2 separate regions of the Homo sapiens genome follow, and region 1 is linked to region 2. Evidence: promoter capture Hi-C in human tissues and cell types (Jung and others, 2019). All regions are on one chromosome and are shown on one strand. The core of a region is centred on a gene start or on the middle of the fragment in contact, and the rest is flanking DNA. Distances in the headings are between cores, read along the strand shown.

What was found. The method cuts DNA at HindIII sites, captures the fragments that hold promoters and counts their contacts. A contact is called where the count stands out against the background at its distance.
Region 1: the fragment with the promoter of LDB1 here is called in contact with the fragment with the promoter of PITX3 in region 2 in 2 of the 25 tissues and cell types used here (IMR-90 fibroblasts and ovary).

Annotation. Positions count from the first base shown.
Region 1 is chr10:102,115,462-102,122,290 of GRCh38, forward strand. It overlaps LDB1 (LIM domain binding 1), which reads right to left and starts at 4,907. Exons shown (of 11, transcript NM_001113407.3): 1 at 4,625-4,907. The coding sequence starts at 4,649. It also overlaps a transcript of PPRC1 not described here. RefSeq lists enhancers at 1,683-2,385, 2,386-3,087, 4,793-5,544, 5,545-6,296, 6,297-6,829 and silencers at 1,974-2,213, 4,547-4,616, 4,707-4,786, 4,847-5,146, 5,167-5,296. The HindIII fragment of the contact is 10,982 bases long and covers 1-6,829 here.
Region 2 is chr10:102,237,193-102,244,615 of GRCh38, forward strand. It overlaps PITX3 (paired like homeodomain 3), which reads right to left and starts at 4,320. Exons shown (of 4, transcript NM_005029.4): 1 at 4,141-4,320. It also overlaps a transcript of GBF1 not described here. RefSeq lists a silencer at 4,182-4,471. The HindIII fragment of the contact is 21,724 bases long and covers 1-7,423 here.

The DNA of each region.
Region 1 (6,829 bases), core at 3,657-6,156, 120 kb before region 2:
GTTATTTTTGACAGACACACATTCTGACATCAGACTGTAAACACTGATTGGAGGAAGGGGGACACTCCAGGCTTCCCTGCCCCCAACCCAGCTAAATTCCAAGCCTTGACTTAGATCCCCCTTAACAGGAAGCCCCCTTCCCCACCACCACTGAAGACAAGTGGGTGCCAGGGAAAGAGGCATTGTCAGAGCTAGGGAAAGCCAACTTGGCCATCCAAGGGTCCCCAGAAGGAGCTTAGTTTGCTGCTGAATCCTCCCCACCACCCCAGAAAAAAAAACGTGTGGTTAGTGGATAGGACCTGTTCTCCCATCCAGCAGGGCATCCCAAGGGAGCAGATATTTCTATTTTTTTTCCTAAGGTAATTTTGTTGTAGCAGGAGGGAATATTTCTAAAACTTGGGTAGTGGGCCAGACCTTACTCGTGGACAAATAGGAAAAGGAAAATACATAGTACACACACACACACACAAACACACACACACACACGGGAAGGGGGAGCACGAACCTTCTATTTCCTTCTTTGCAATTTGAGTGTCTGTTTCTCTACTTCCTGTCTCCTACCCCCAACTATATTCACACATAACTCCAAGGACAGGATTTCTTATGACATACTCACTAGTTAACTGTGCAGTAATATTGCACCTGGCTCTGTGAACATCTTCCACATAAATAACACATCTCACTTTCACATAAATCACTACCTGATACACATTTCAACCTGTGATATATCTTTTTTCCAAGACGGAGTCTCGCTCTGTTGCTTAGGCTGGAGTGCAGTGGCGCGATCTCGGCTCACTGCAACCTCCAGCTCCTGGGTTCAAGCGATTCTCCTGCCTCAGCCTCCTGAGTAGCTGAGATTACAGGTGCATGCCACCACACCCAGCTAATTTTTGTATTTTTAGTAGAGACAGGTTTCACTATGTTGGCCAGGCTGGTCTCGAACGCCTGACCTCAGGTGATCCACCCACCTTGGCCTCCCAAAGTGCTAGTATTACAGATGTGAGCCACCGCGTCTGGCCATCAACCTGTGATATATCTCAAATCCTAAATATACCCAAATCCTGGATATATACACACACACACAGTCTAAGTCATACACACTGGGACCTATGACACGCATCCTGACCTCAATACACACACCAAAACTGTGTTATAACCCCTAAACCTGTGACAGCCTATCACATACACACCCCGATCATTTATTATGCAAGGACTTAACCTATAAATCACCCTCTCTGAAGCCTGCGTACCATTCCTCATCACAGCCTGGCCATAGAATAAACCCCAGCTTTCACAAACATACTGAAATCTATAACATTCAGCCAGACCCTGCAACATACAGCCTATCACCAGGACTTAAGACACTCCCACTGACTCCCAAATTTACAGCTTAACTCTGGGGTAGTCCCACTTCTCCCCCACTGCCTTTAAACTTTCCAAAGTGCATTCACAGGCAGTACCTCAAGAGATCCTCATAGCACATAGGGCCAAATATCCTAACAGTGAGATCCTAACAGAACCCACTGAGACAGGATGACCAGGGTGGGCTGGGGGGTGGGGGGGTTGAACCCTGCACTTCTAAACCCACCAGATACAAGCCAAGCCCTGCAGCCATTCCTACTCCCTTCCCCCTCCAGGCCTCAAATCACTGTCCTCATGGGGAGGGGGAAATGTGCTCTGGCTTTTGCCTCCAGCCCAGAGCTCAGAACCCCACACCCACCCTGTCTCCTCAGACAGGAGGGACTACAAGGGCCCTCCAGTCTCGCTGTGGGGTGGAGGGGCCCCTAAATGCCAAGATGTATCGACTGGCAAACCATTCAAAACAGGCCTTCTAGTTATTCTCTAGCAAGTCTGCTCCTTTCTCTGCTCTGACCAGATTTACCCAGTTGCACAGGGGCAGAACAGGTCCAGCTAAAAAGAGCAAGTCTGAGTTAGAAGGCCTTAGAATTGGTGGTGAGGTGGAGGGAGCAGCAAATAATGACAAAGATGATGAGGGAAAGTACTCCTCCTGGAGGTGGGGACTCAAAGGACAGCAGCCAGCCCCAGCCCACAGGATGAGGTACCAGCACTGCCCCCTGCCCGGGCCCCTGGGGCTCCCTGACCCAGGCCTCCAGTGTGCCTGCCCCCCTTCCTTTGTCTGTGCCCGGCCTCCCGTTGGCCTGGCGCTCTGCCATCCTCCTCTCCTGGCTCCCAGCCGCCACCACTGCTGCCTCCTCCCCTCCCCCTACTCCTCCCTGCCTTAACCCTTCTGAGCCACATGCTGCCCCAGACAGGCCCTGGCCCCCTCAGCCTCTTGCTCAGGGTGATGCCCCTTAGTCAGAGGCTCTCCCTGCTCCCAGCCATTCCAGCCCCAGAAGCTGGTCCTCACCCCAGGAGCAATATGGGTGTTGGGCATGTGTATGTGTGTATCTTGTGGTGCTTCTGCGTGTGCATGTGTGTGGGTCTGTGTGCGCTCTGGCTTCCCTCAGTCACATGTGTGGGGCATGTGCTGTCTCTGCCGGGCTGGGGGAGGAGGAGGAGCCCGGAGACAGCAGAACACAAAGGAGAGACTCAGACAGGCAGGCAGGCAGGCGGCAGGCGGCCTGCCAGGGCGCCTCAGCCCTCACCCCAGGGCTGCTCAAGGTGGGGGAAATCTTTGGGCCTGGACTGCTACATGCTGCCATGCCTTCCTTGTGTTCAAGCATGTGCTCCCCCATCCAAGCAAGCTGCAAGCCAGGTCCCCTCTCTAACCTCAACTGCTACTATTCCCCACCTCCAGTCTACTCTGAAGCCCTCCCCATGTGGTTCTCCTTGAAGTCTAACCTCCATCCACCCTCTTTGGCATCAATCTATAAGACTTCTTCATGATCTGGAAAAAGACTCCCCACTCTTCCCTATCTTTTGCCCTCTCTCCCTCAGTCAGACCACCAGACACAAAAGGAACATGCCTTCTGGGGCATTGACTGAAGTTGTCTTCCCACCCACCCACAAACCCCTGGGCTTGGGCCCTCTTCCTGTTCCCATGCTGCTCCCAGAGACTAAGAAGAAGAGATTTTCTCTCTCCTCCCACTGGACCCAGGCACCCTGCCCCAACTTCAGGGCCAACCTCCCATCCACCTCCAGCCTGACAACCCCTCCATACATACATACCCGCTTACCCACTATTTGTAGGAACTAAGAATCACAATTTAAGACTCATCCCTCTAGCTTGTTCAGATCCTTAGTTTAACTGCTCTGCTCATGTGTGTTGATGGAGGGTCAGGGCCCTGGGGTGGGCTAAGAACATGATGGATCTGAAAGGGGTACCCAGCATGGGTCAATTATAAAGGAGAAAATCCACAACATAAACATGTACACCAAGCTGGTAGAAAGAGGGACGACGGGGCCAGACAGGATTCCAGCTTGGCAAGCTCTTCCCTCTCCTCTCCCCAACCCTCTGCAGCAGGAGCCAGTGGTTCCCATACTCGGATATTCTAGGATTGTTAGGTTCTCTTATTCCTCCTTCTGGGACCCATGCCCCTTAGACATCAGCCTCAGCAGGCACCTGAAGTGTGTGCCCAGCCCAGCTTGGCCTGGGTCACATGATTTTCAAGGAAGCTTCCGCACTGGCAGCTTCCCTTGGGGATTTGTGGGGGAGTGGTGGGTGTCCAGCTGTGAAGTATGTAGCCAAAGCGGGCTACATTCAGGGACACTGACTTCCAGGAGAAAGCTGACTCCAGTCTGGGGCAGGAGGGCCAATTCCAGGACCCAGAGTCCCGGGGATGGAGACAGACAGTGTGCCGTGAGGCCCTCTGTAGACTACCTCTCCAGTCGCATGGCTTCTCTCTTTCCTCCTGGCAGTGAGGTAGACGCCCTCCGCCCCCCCCACCTGCCCCCCAGGAAAAAAACTCAGACCTAGGCTATCCCTGGCAAGAGCTGATATGTTTTGGGGAGGCAGGGATCTGAGCCTGGGTCCTCTCTCAAGTTCTCAGTTTTGGGTCAAGTATTGCTCCCCCAGCTTACCTCTCCACAAATCACTCTATTTCCTAGCCTGCCCTCCCACTAGGGCGGAGATGCCAGACCCAAGGGTCCAATTATCTGGCACCTCTTAGGAGTACCTCCGGTGCCTCAGGAGGGCCAACCTTCCCTGGCAACAGGCAGGAAAAGTTGAAGGTGGGGGGCAAGATGGGCCGCAATCAATACCTCCCTGCAAACAGGGTCCTCAGAAACAGCATGGGGGGGATGTCACAGGATAGGTAAGAGGCAATGGGCAGCAGGGAAGGGGGGGCAGCCCAAACCAGCCAATCACAACTCTATGGTGACCTGAGGGGGGGGGTCAAAAGTCCAGAGTCACTTCTGATTGGCTAACAACCTGGAATTCTGAGAATTTCAGCCCCCCCCAAACCTCTCCCCAATTAGCCTACCCCCAAAAAAACATACACATAAGCCACCCCCAGCGTCTCCTCCCCGTGTTTCTGGGCTGCTGCGCATTTACACAGTTGGGGAAAACGCTACCCGCCAGCCTGAGGCCCCGCGTAGCCCTTCCAGCCCCCGGCTTCCCCCATGCCATCGACGCCCCCCACACAAGTTCTCGCCAAACACGGGGTGAGGGGTCCGCAGGGACGGCTGGGCAGGAAGGGGCCGAGTGGCCGCACGCCCCACTCACCAGGACAGGCACAGCCCACTGACATCTTCACATCGCCCGCCTCTGGGGGCCCAGCCGAGTCACGGTGCCCGCCCCTCGCGGGGACAGGCCGGGCATGAGCCGCCGCCGCCGCCCGCGGCCCCCGCTGCGCTCGCCGCCGGCCCGGCCCGGCCTCGGCCCGGTGCGGGCGGCCCCTGGCTGCGGCGAGGGGCCTGTCAGGCGCGGAGCAGACAGGAAGGAAGCCAGGCAGGAAGGCGAGCGGCCTCTGCGTGTGTGCGCGCGGGTGTGAGTCCGCGGAGTGTGTGTCCGTGTGTGCGTGTGTGCGCGTGTGCGTGTGCGTGTCTGTGCGCTCCCGCCGCCGTCGCCGAGCGCCCCCCTCTCCGCCCTCGCGCTCGCGCTCCCTCGCGCCGGCGCCGGCTCCCCAGCCCAAGCCGGGCAGGGCCGGGCTTTATTAATATGCTAATTGTCCTGCTAGTGGGAGGGGAGAGCCGTGTCAAAGTGACCCGGGAGAGCGCGCAGCAAGCGACGACGTGCGTGCGCCGCGCGGCGGGCGGGCGGCGAGGGGCTGGGAGCGCTCGGGGAACGGCATGCATGTGACGCAGCTTTTAAAAAAGGAGACGGAGGCAGAGACCCCAGAGAGGGAGGGCGAAGGGGAGGGCTTGGAGGCGCAGCCGCGCGCTCGGTGTCCGTCCTCCGGGTGCCGCCGGATGGGGAGTCTGGCTGAGCCGGAGCGGGAGCCGCGGCTGGGGGAGGCGGAGCCGGGGTGGGCAGTGTGGTGTATCTCTCTCCACCCCGGGCCGCGCTCCGGGAGGGAAAAGGGACTGCAGACCCCCTGTCCGTGCTCCCTGCTGAGACGCCAGCCTTCTTCTGGAGGCCCCTTGTTTCGCGTCCCTACCCTAGGCTGGATGGGTAAAGAAGCATTCTCTTAATTCTTGTAGCAACCCCTCAACTCACCCCTTCCCTAAATTAACCACTCCTCCTTTGCCTGCGAAACCAGTTGGGACTAGAACTAAAAGGGTTAATTAAGTGGGGTCCCCGCCCTCCTCCGCCTAAGGGCTTGGGATCTGTGTTTTGCTGGGGGGAGGGGGCTGCGGAATGACCACCAGATTGGATTACGGAGGGGCGATAGGAGGCCATCCTTCCTTCTTGCAGACTGACGCATCAGTCAAGACACTCTCTTCCCTTCCCCCCTTTCTCCAGCCTTGGTGCCTTCACCTCCGTACCAACCGCCCAACCCCACCGCCTCCGACCCCCCTGCCTGGAAGCTGCTGTCCTTTGAGGGCTTCGGAGATGAGAACAGGAAACAGGCCCCTCCAGTGCCCCCTAACCCAGAGAGGCAGAGGCTGTGGGCCGTGGGGGGTTGGATGGGAGATGATGTGGATGGTCAATGTAAGGAACACTCCTTCCCCTGGGAGGAGCCTCCCAACCTTCAGTCACACTTCAAGGACTCCCCAACCCAGCCCTAGGAGGGGAGGGGCTCCATCTCCATCCCTTCCCAAAAGCTCAGCTTTAGCTGCCTCATAAACAGGAAATACCTATTAGCCAGGAGGAGGGAAGGGAGGGGAGCCGCCTGGAGTAGAGAGTTGACCCCCTCCCTCCTGGGGTCCCCAGCTGCTAGCTTTTCTTTCTTAAGTTTCAGTATGGGCTCCAGGGATAGACGATGGAGACTTGGACTAGTGTCTCCTCCCTAGGGCGTCTGGCCCTGACTGGGTAGGGGGTTCTCCTCTTTGTTACTTAGAGGGGTGTTGGTTGAGAAGGCTGTTTGGTTCCCTCACTCTGGCTCAGAGTCTGCACAGCTGGCTTGACTGGCTGGGGGAGGGTTACAAATGCGGAGGCTTAAAGTGTTTATGAGACCTCTTCTCTCCACCTTAGGTTTTTGCTGAGGGAGCATGAAATGATGGAACGGTGCAGAGTCCAGGGATTGAAAAGAAGGCCTGCCTAGGAATGGAGACCCTCCCCACCATGTGCTTAGGATGGGGGATAGGGGAGCTTGTACACTGTGGAGTCTCCCACCCCCAGGTTTCCCCATCTCCACCCCCACCAGGAGCAGAGAGGACCTGACTGAAGCCATCCACACTCACACAAGTATTTCCTTGGCAGCATCCCCTGCCTGAGTGCACCCCCTCCCTGCATTCTCCCAGACAAAGGTCAGCACTAGAGGGAGTAGAGAGAACATAAGGCAACAGAACACTGGCCCGAAATTGTGGATACCTAGGTTTGAACGCA
Region 2 (7,423 bases), core at 3,070-5,569:
GATGGAAAGATGGACCGCATGGGTCTGACTCCCAGACTGTGGGAGATCAGAGAGAGGGAAGCCCATGGAAGGTGGTACCGAGTGTTGGGAGCTCAGAGAATATAGGCACGTGACTGAATTGGGAGTTCAAGAGGAAGAGAAGGGGTATGGCATTCTAAATAATCAGCAGTGTTGGGAATAAGCTGGCAGGCTGGGAGGGCAGTGGTGAGCCTAGGTTAGTCAGAGTCTCAGTGTAGGCCACGGGAGATCTGCAGAGAGAAACGAGTCAAACCGAGGGGGCCTCCAATGGGGGACAAGGGGCAGTGGTTCAGATTTGACAAAGTCTAGGCTACAGTATGTCCAGCTTTTTCATCAAAAACCGCTAAGATTCACACTGAGCAACAGCCCTGAATAAAGAAAAAAACCCTAAGACCAGTCAAAAACAACATCTACTAGAAAACAGAAGCATGACCTGAAACAGCTGCCACTAGTATGAAATTGTTTTGAGGTCACCAGCTTTATGTTAAAAATGCAAACAAATTTTTCGTTCTATTCCATACTTTAGTCATGGATTATAAAATATTTTAATATAAAAATAAAGCTTTTTTTAATATAAAACCCCCCAATCTTCAAGTGATATCACCACACCAGGAAGATGGGCCCTGTTTAGACTGTGTGTCATGCCTCCTCCACTCCCGTACTGCCCTCCTCCCCCGCCCACCCCACTATGAGAAGCAATGCACCAAGCAGTAGGGGTCACTGGAGGCTTGTATCCAGGGGTGTGACAAAAAACAGCATCTTTGTGACCTTTATTTGACCATGGTGAGCATAAAGGGTTGGGCAGGGAAGAAATAGGAAAGGAGAAACTATTAACTGAAAGGTGTAAAAAAGGCCCCGGGGCAGGACAATGGGAAAGGAGAGATAGAGTTTTGAAAGTTATTCCTCTCTGTCTTCCCCCAACTCTTACCCCACTGATGATCTTTTCCTTTTCCTCCCCATCATTCTTTTCATGAGTCCCTGGCAGTGGCCATGGACACCCTAGACACCCCAAAGCTCAGGACCTAATGGATCCTTCAGGTTAGTCTAGGAGGCATCATTTAGTGTGAATGGAGAAGAAAAGATTCTACTGGCCCCATCCTTCAGTCACCACAAGTCAGCTCTAGCCTGCTGCGTTTGCCCTCCCGTCCTGAACCTGAGTCCTGGGCCAATGTTCCCATCCCTGAGCAGGAGGCAGGCAGAGATATTTGGCCTGGTAGACAGGCTGAGCATTTGGGGAGCTCCCCAGAGTTCTCAGACAGCGGCAGGGGTAGTGGCCAGCATCTGAAGTCCACGATAGGGTGGCCCGTCTGTCATTAAGATCCCTCCTATGGCTGCATCAGGGATGAGATTAGGCTGCTCTAAGTCTCAGCCCCACTTTTCCAAACAAAGATTCTGCAGCTTGGGCATAATAATAGCAGTGCTTCTTATTTATATGATGCTCCTCCATTTGCAGAGGGCCTTCACAGACATAATTTCATTTAACTCGCACAACTGCCCTGCATGGCTGGAGTGCCTATCCCCATTACACCTCTAAGAAGGCAGGATGCAAGGTTACACAGTTTGAAGAGATTTGAAGAGATTCAAACCATCTAGTTCTGCTCTTTCCATGCCTCACTCCCTCCACCCTGTAGCCATTTGTGACTCTGACATGTGCTGATCCTTCCAAACCCTGAAGGATTCCATTTCTACTTCCTGCCTCTATCATCTCTCTGGAAATGAGCTCTGGAAGTATGCTGCCCACTGTGTGCCAAAGAACATTTTTCTATTCATCCTGAGCTTGCATCACTCCAGTTCTAAAAGGCCCCCTCATCTCCAGTTTCAAGATTTGGGGAGCAAGCAATTCTTCTGCATATCTAGGTCTTTTATTATGCTGTAGATTTCCATCCTGTCTCACCTTCCAGAGGACTAAACTTTGAAATTTGCCCTCACCAGCAACCCCTGGCTCCCCATTCTGCCAATCATTCTCTGACCCTACTCTAGGCCCATGACATTCTTCCTAAGAGCCAGTGACCAGGCATGCGTTCAGTTACAAGGCTTTATGCAAGGGTGGGAAAAGGTTCTGTCTTTTGTTTCCAATCACCTTCATTATGATACCACCTCTTTGGCCTTTTTGGCAAAAGCCAACTTTGAGCTAAAGTCTTCAGGGAACCATCTGTAATGCTTTCCCTGTTCCTTTCCTGACACAGAGTCCTTCATTTCACCTATAATTTCAGTGATTTTATGGGAGCACAGCAATGGGAGCACAAGCCCCTGAAAAGTGTATCAGAATGTGATGGGGATAATTGTGGTGTGTCTTTATATTGATCAAAATAGGGCAAATGAAAAACAAAAGTTGAGAATCCTAGCCAGTAATAAGCAAACTTTAGAACTGAGGAATGGACATGGGAGTATGGGGAATACGTATTGTATGTCACTCACAGGTGAAGGGTAAGAAAGGTTGAAACCACTGTTTAGATTACTCATTGCTAAATACAATGCCTTGCACTTGTCCTTGTGAAAACTCAGTCCCCAGCTGGGCTATCTTGCTCACTTATATGGACTCGTTCTCCCTGTTCTGTCCTCTTCAGCATAATTGAGCTGTGGTTAGAATTGGGGTCAGGGTGGATGGTCACTGTATGGGCCCAGCAGAGTCAGGGCTGTATCCCAGCTGCAGGGAAAGTAAACCCGGCTGTTAGGTAGGGCCAAGATATCCTTCCCAACCAGACTGAGAGGGCCAGATAGCCCCCTGTTGGACTCCAGAGTCTGGATTCCATGAGCCTCCTTCCCACCTCCGCTCAGCCACCAGGGTGGTGTTGGGACTGGTAGGGCTGAGGAAGAAAAAGGGAAACAGGACCACAGGATTTGCTTTGCTAATGGGGCTGTAGTTTTCTCTTCTGGCCTGGGCTCCTGCCCACTGTAGGGAAGGAGCCATTGGTCGCCTGATACTCCAGCAAGGAGTCTGGGGGGTGTCTGGTTAATTGTATTGGAATTAGGGGGCAACTGAGGCTGCCAGGGGCTTGTACCCAGCTCCTTCCTGTTTTCCCATTGCCTTTTGTCACCTATTCCTTCCTTTCCTGGTCTTGATTCCCACTAGCAGGCTCCTCATTGGCCTTCTGTCCTCAAATTTGGATTCTGGAAGTACAGAGTGATGCTCTGATCTATTCTGAATTGAAGGGGGCATGTGTCCCAGCCCACCTCACCCCAAGGCCAGGTTGTAGCCTTTACTCTCGCTCCCTGCTCACAGCTTCGCAGCCCGAAGGAGCTGAAACAAGTTTGCAAAGTGTGAGCTGGGATTTGAGGTGACCCACCGCAGCCGACCCCATCGCACACGCAGCAGCTGGGCAGGCGCTGCTGGGTAGACGGACATGCCACCCAGCCAGGGACATTCTGTCCGCCACTGCCAGACACAACTCCCGCTCCGGAGAGACCCACTTCGCTACCCGGACATTCTGTCCGCTCCGAGCCCCATGCACCGCGGACATTCTGTCCGATTCTGAGGCGGCCTCAAGTCAGGACCCTTCTGGGCCCAGACACCCCAAGCCAGATCCACTATACCCGCCGCCTGGTCACTCTGATCCGCACAGCGGCCATCTGACTCAGTCGCGGCCGGGCTCTCACAACACAGCTCCTATTCCAACTGCGGAGCAGCTGGGAAGAGAAGCGTGTGCGACCAGGCGCACCCCGGCTCCCAGCCCCAGGAGTCTGAGCCTAGGCCGAGGGGCATCGGGCGCCGTCAACTGCCCCCACACTGGGGGCCGCCCCGCCAGCTCCCCCGCTGGCCAGGGCCTCTGTAACCCCTTTCGCTCCCTGGCCGCCTGCCCCGTGCCCTGGGATTCCAGGGCGCTTTCTGGTAATGGTTTCCAGACTCCCTACTCCCTGCCTCGCGAAGCCCCTATCCTGGTTTCAAGTCTCCGGCTTCGTTCCGGATCCTCTGAGTCTCCCCCTTCCCTATCCCCTGGTTCTTACCCTGAGTTTCCCTTTTCCCAAGTCCTGGCCCCAGGTCTGCAGTCCGCCCTCCCATTCTCGACCTGTTCCCAAGGCACCGGAGTTCAGCTGCCCCAGGTCTCGTTTTAGGGATTCCAAGGTCCAGCAATAGCTCCTCGGCCCCATGAGCCCCTGTCCTTAGAATGGTCAAACACTCACAGTGCGTCCTGCAACAGGCAGACTCCCAGTAGCGGCGGCTGCGGCGGCGATCTAGAGGGCAGGCAGGGGCCAGGGGCCGGGCACCCGGCCGGAGTGGGGGCCGCCCCCCTGCTCCCGGGCCGCCTCTCCGCTCGGGCGCTCCTGGACTCTCGGAGGGAGTGAGCCTCACCGCGTACTGCCACCCCCAGCCGGCGCCCATTCACTTTATGGCAGACCAGGGCGCCCCCAGCCCGCCGCGGCGAGCCGCGCGCGTCAGGCCCCGCCCCTTTCCAGCTGCCCTGCTGGGGCTCCGCCCTTTCCAGCTGTGGATCTCCAGGCCCCGCCTTTGAGGGAGGGGTCTGGCCGGCGAGACGCCAAGAACCCCGCCCTCTGGCCAATCAGAAGCGCTCTTCAGCAACTCGGCCGCGCCCCTCCCCACGTGGCAGAGACCGCGCTCCGGCTAGGACGCTTAGGCAGAGCCAAGTGGGCGAGAGTAGAGTGGTCCCGGTAGCCACGGGTAAAAGGGATCGGCTGGCAGCGAAGTGGGTTGGGCCGCTACCCCGAGGAAAGTGGATCGGCGCCAGGTGGGAAGGCGCACGGGGCCGCCGGGTCTCAGCGCTCAGACTTCTCTGCCACTCAAGTTTCGCCGATTTTCTCCACTTGTCGCTGTCCGTCTCTCCTCCCTTTTGTCTCTGTTCCAATCCTCCCACGTCTCGCCTTTCTTTCCTCTTCTTTCTCCTCAGCCGCTTCGCTCCTGCTGTTTACCATTCTCCTTCCTCTGCCACTTTAAAAGACTCATTTCTCTTTCTCTCTGCTCCTCTTTCCTCATATCTTTCCTCTTCTTCATTTCCCCCTTCTTCTCCAAGGAAGGTGACTTCGTGGAGACAGCAGGGTTTGGAATGATACAAACCAAAGTAGTATTCCAACGCTGCCACGAACTGCACCATCACTGAGTGAACTTGGACGAGTAACTATCATCTCCCTCCCCGCGCAAAACAATTAAGAGGAGGTTCCTGCTGGATCTCAGGGCTTGGGCTGGGCACTCCAAAGGCATTGCCTTTCAGTCTGTACCCTTGTCTTGCTTAGGCTGTGCTCTCCCTCCTTCAGCAGGGCTGGTTTCCCGCTGGTGGTACCAGGTTAAGTCCTGTGGGCAAGGTGTGGCCTTGGTGCCTGCTGGTTAGGAATTTGCAAGGGACAGGACAGATGACCAAGGAACATCCTGGCAGACTGTGACTTCGGCCCTCTCTGACTTAGGCCTCAATTTCCAGGAAACAGGCTCCTTCTCTTCTCCCAGTTAGGCTATGTTGCTTGGGTGCTCCGAAGAGCCTAAGCCCAGGCCAAACACTGTGGCTCATGCCTGTAATCCCAGCACTTTGGGAGGCCGAGGCGGGCGGATCACAAGGTCAGGAGATTGAGACCACCCTGGCTAACACGGTGAAACCCCATCTCTACTAAAAAATACAAAAAATTAGCCGGGCTTGGTGGCGGGTGCCTGTAGTCTCAGCTACTGGGGAGGCTGAGGAAGAAGAATGGCGTGAACCCAGGAGGCAGAGCTTGCAGTGAGCTGAGATCGCGCCACTGCACTCCAGACTGGGCGACAGAGCAAGACTCTGTCTCAAAAAAAAAAAAAAAAAAGAGCCTAAGCCCAGTCACACAATATGCCCCTAAGGCAAATCTGAGCAGTCATGTCTTGACTGTTCAGTGACTCCCATTGCCCTTAGGATAAAGGTCAAGCTCCCTAGCCTGGCATACAAGACCTTCAGGACCTGACCTTGTCTTCATCTCCAATTTCCTAGTAGTGTCCTGCACACCTCTGGCCCTTCCTGTGAAAGTAACCCATCTTTATATTGTCAATTCCTACTCCTCCAATGTTCCACTCAAGTCTTATTTTCTCTGGGAAGCCTTTTCTGAACTCTCAGTTTAGCCCCTTGCTCTCATGACCCTCAGTGTATACCTTCTATTACACCACCCACCATATTGAAGGGATCAGCTTATGTGTTGTCTGCTATGATAATAAAATTTAGGAGGGTAAGGACCATGTCTGTTATTCCCAGGCATAATGTAGAATCTCAATAAATGTCACACTGAAATCTATGAGGAAGATGTTCTGCCTGGTAAGATGATGATTAGTGGTTAGGAGGGACTAGGGAATTGTCATCTCTCTCCTCCCCATCTCTATTGCACAATCACATGCTTTTAGAATGATGAATTTCTGGAGGTATGTAGAAGTAGATATTGGCGAGCAGAAATTTTTGGCCCACTTAGAGGATTTTCCAATCGGCTTTCCAGGACCTCTCAATCTGAGACAGGCCCAGGACACCAACTCTCAGTTTTCAAATGAAGAGGAAAATGGCTTTGAGGTAATGTGGAAAGAGGTGCTATGATGGTATATCCTCTTTCCCTGACTCTCTTTGGGTGATAGAGGCTAGATCCTCAGCTGGACCCACCGACCAGAAGCCCAATGTGCAGGTGTAGGAAGTTACTGAGGGGTTCTTCACGTCTGATATCTGATGGGTGCTTTACACTAGAGCATCGTGGCCAGGTGTGGTGGCTCACACCTGTAATCTCAACACTTTGGGAGGCTGAGGCGGGTGGATCACCTGAGGTCAGGAGTTCGAGACCAGCCTGTCCAACATGGTGAAACCCCATCTCTACTAAAAATACAAAAATTAGCCTGGTGTGGTGGCAGATGCCTGTAATCCCAGCTACTTGGGAGGCTGAGGCAGGAGAATCACTTGAACCCAGGAGGTGGAGGTTGCAGTGAGCCAAGATCACAGCACTGCACTCCATCCTGGATGACAAAGCAAGACTCTCTCAAAACAAACAAACAAACAAAAGACAAAAAAACAAAACAAAACAAAAAAATAGCGCATCGTAGCACACGGATGGTCTTTGGATGTCTGGTTTTGAGACTACTTTCCTATGTGGTTAGTTATAGAGCTTCCCTGGACTTGGGTCGTCCATAATTGGGAGGATGTATGGAAAGAATTAGGTATTTTTTTTTCACTGCCTCCCAGCAGCTTCTCCAGGTCTGCAGGGACACTGGGGCTCTAGTGTCCCAAATAGGCTGGGAATTTCATGATTCAGTCTCCTAGGAGAAAACCCATCCTCTTGTCCTCTTCTCACGCATTCTCACTTCCAGGTAATACAGGTAATTCTAAATAGCTTAGTAACCTCTATCATCTCTTGCAAGGGGAGGAGGCAGCTGGGGGCAAGACAGTGAAAACAGGTGGGCATCCAACCCTCAGGCCCCTTAGCGTTTCTAAGGCAAACAAGAAAGACTTCTGTTTCCTATCACTGATGA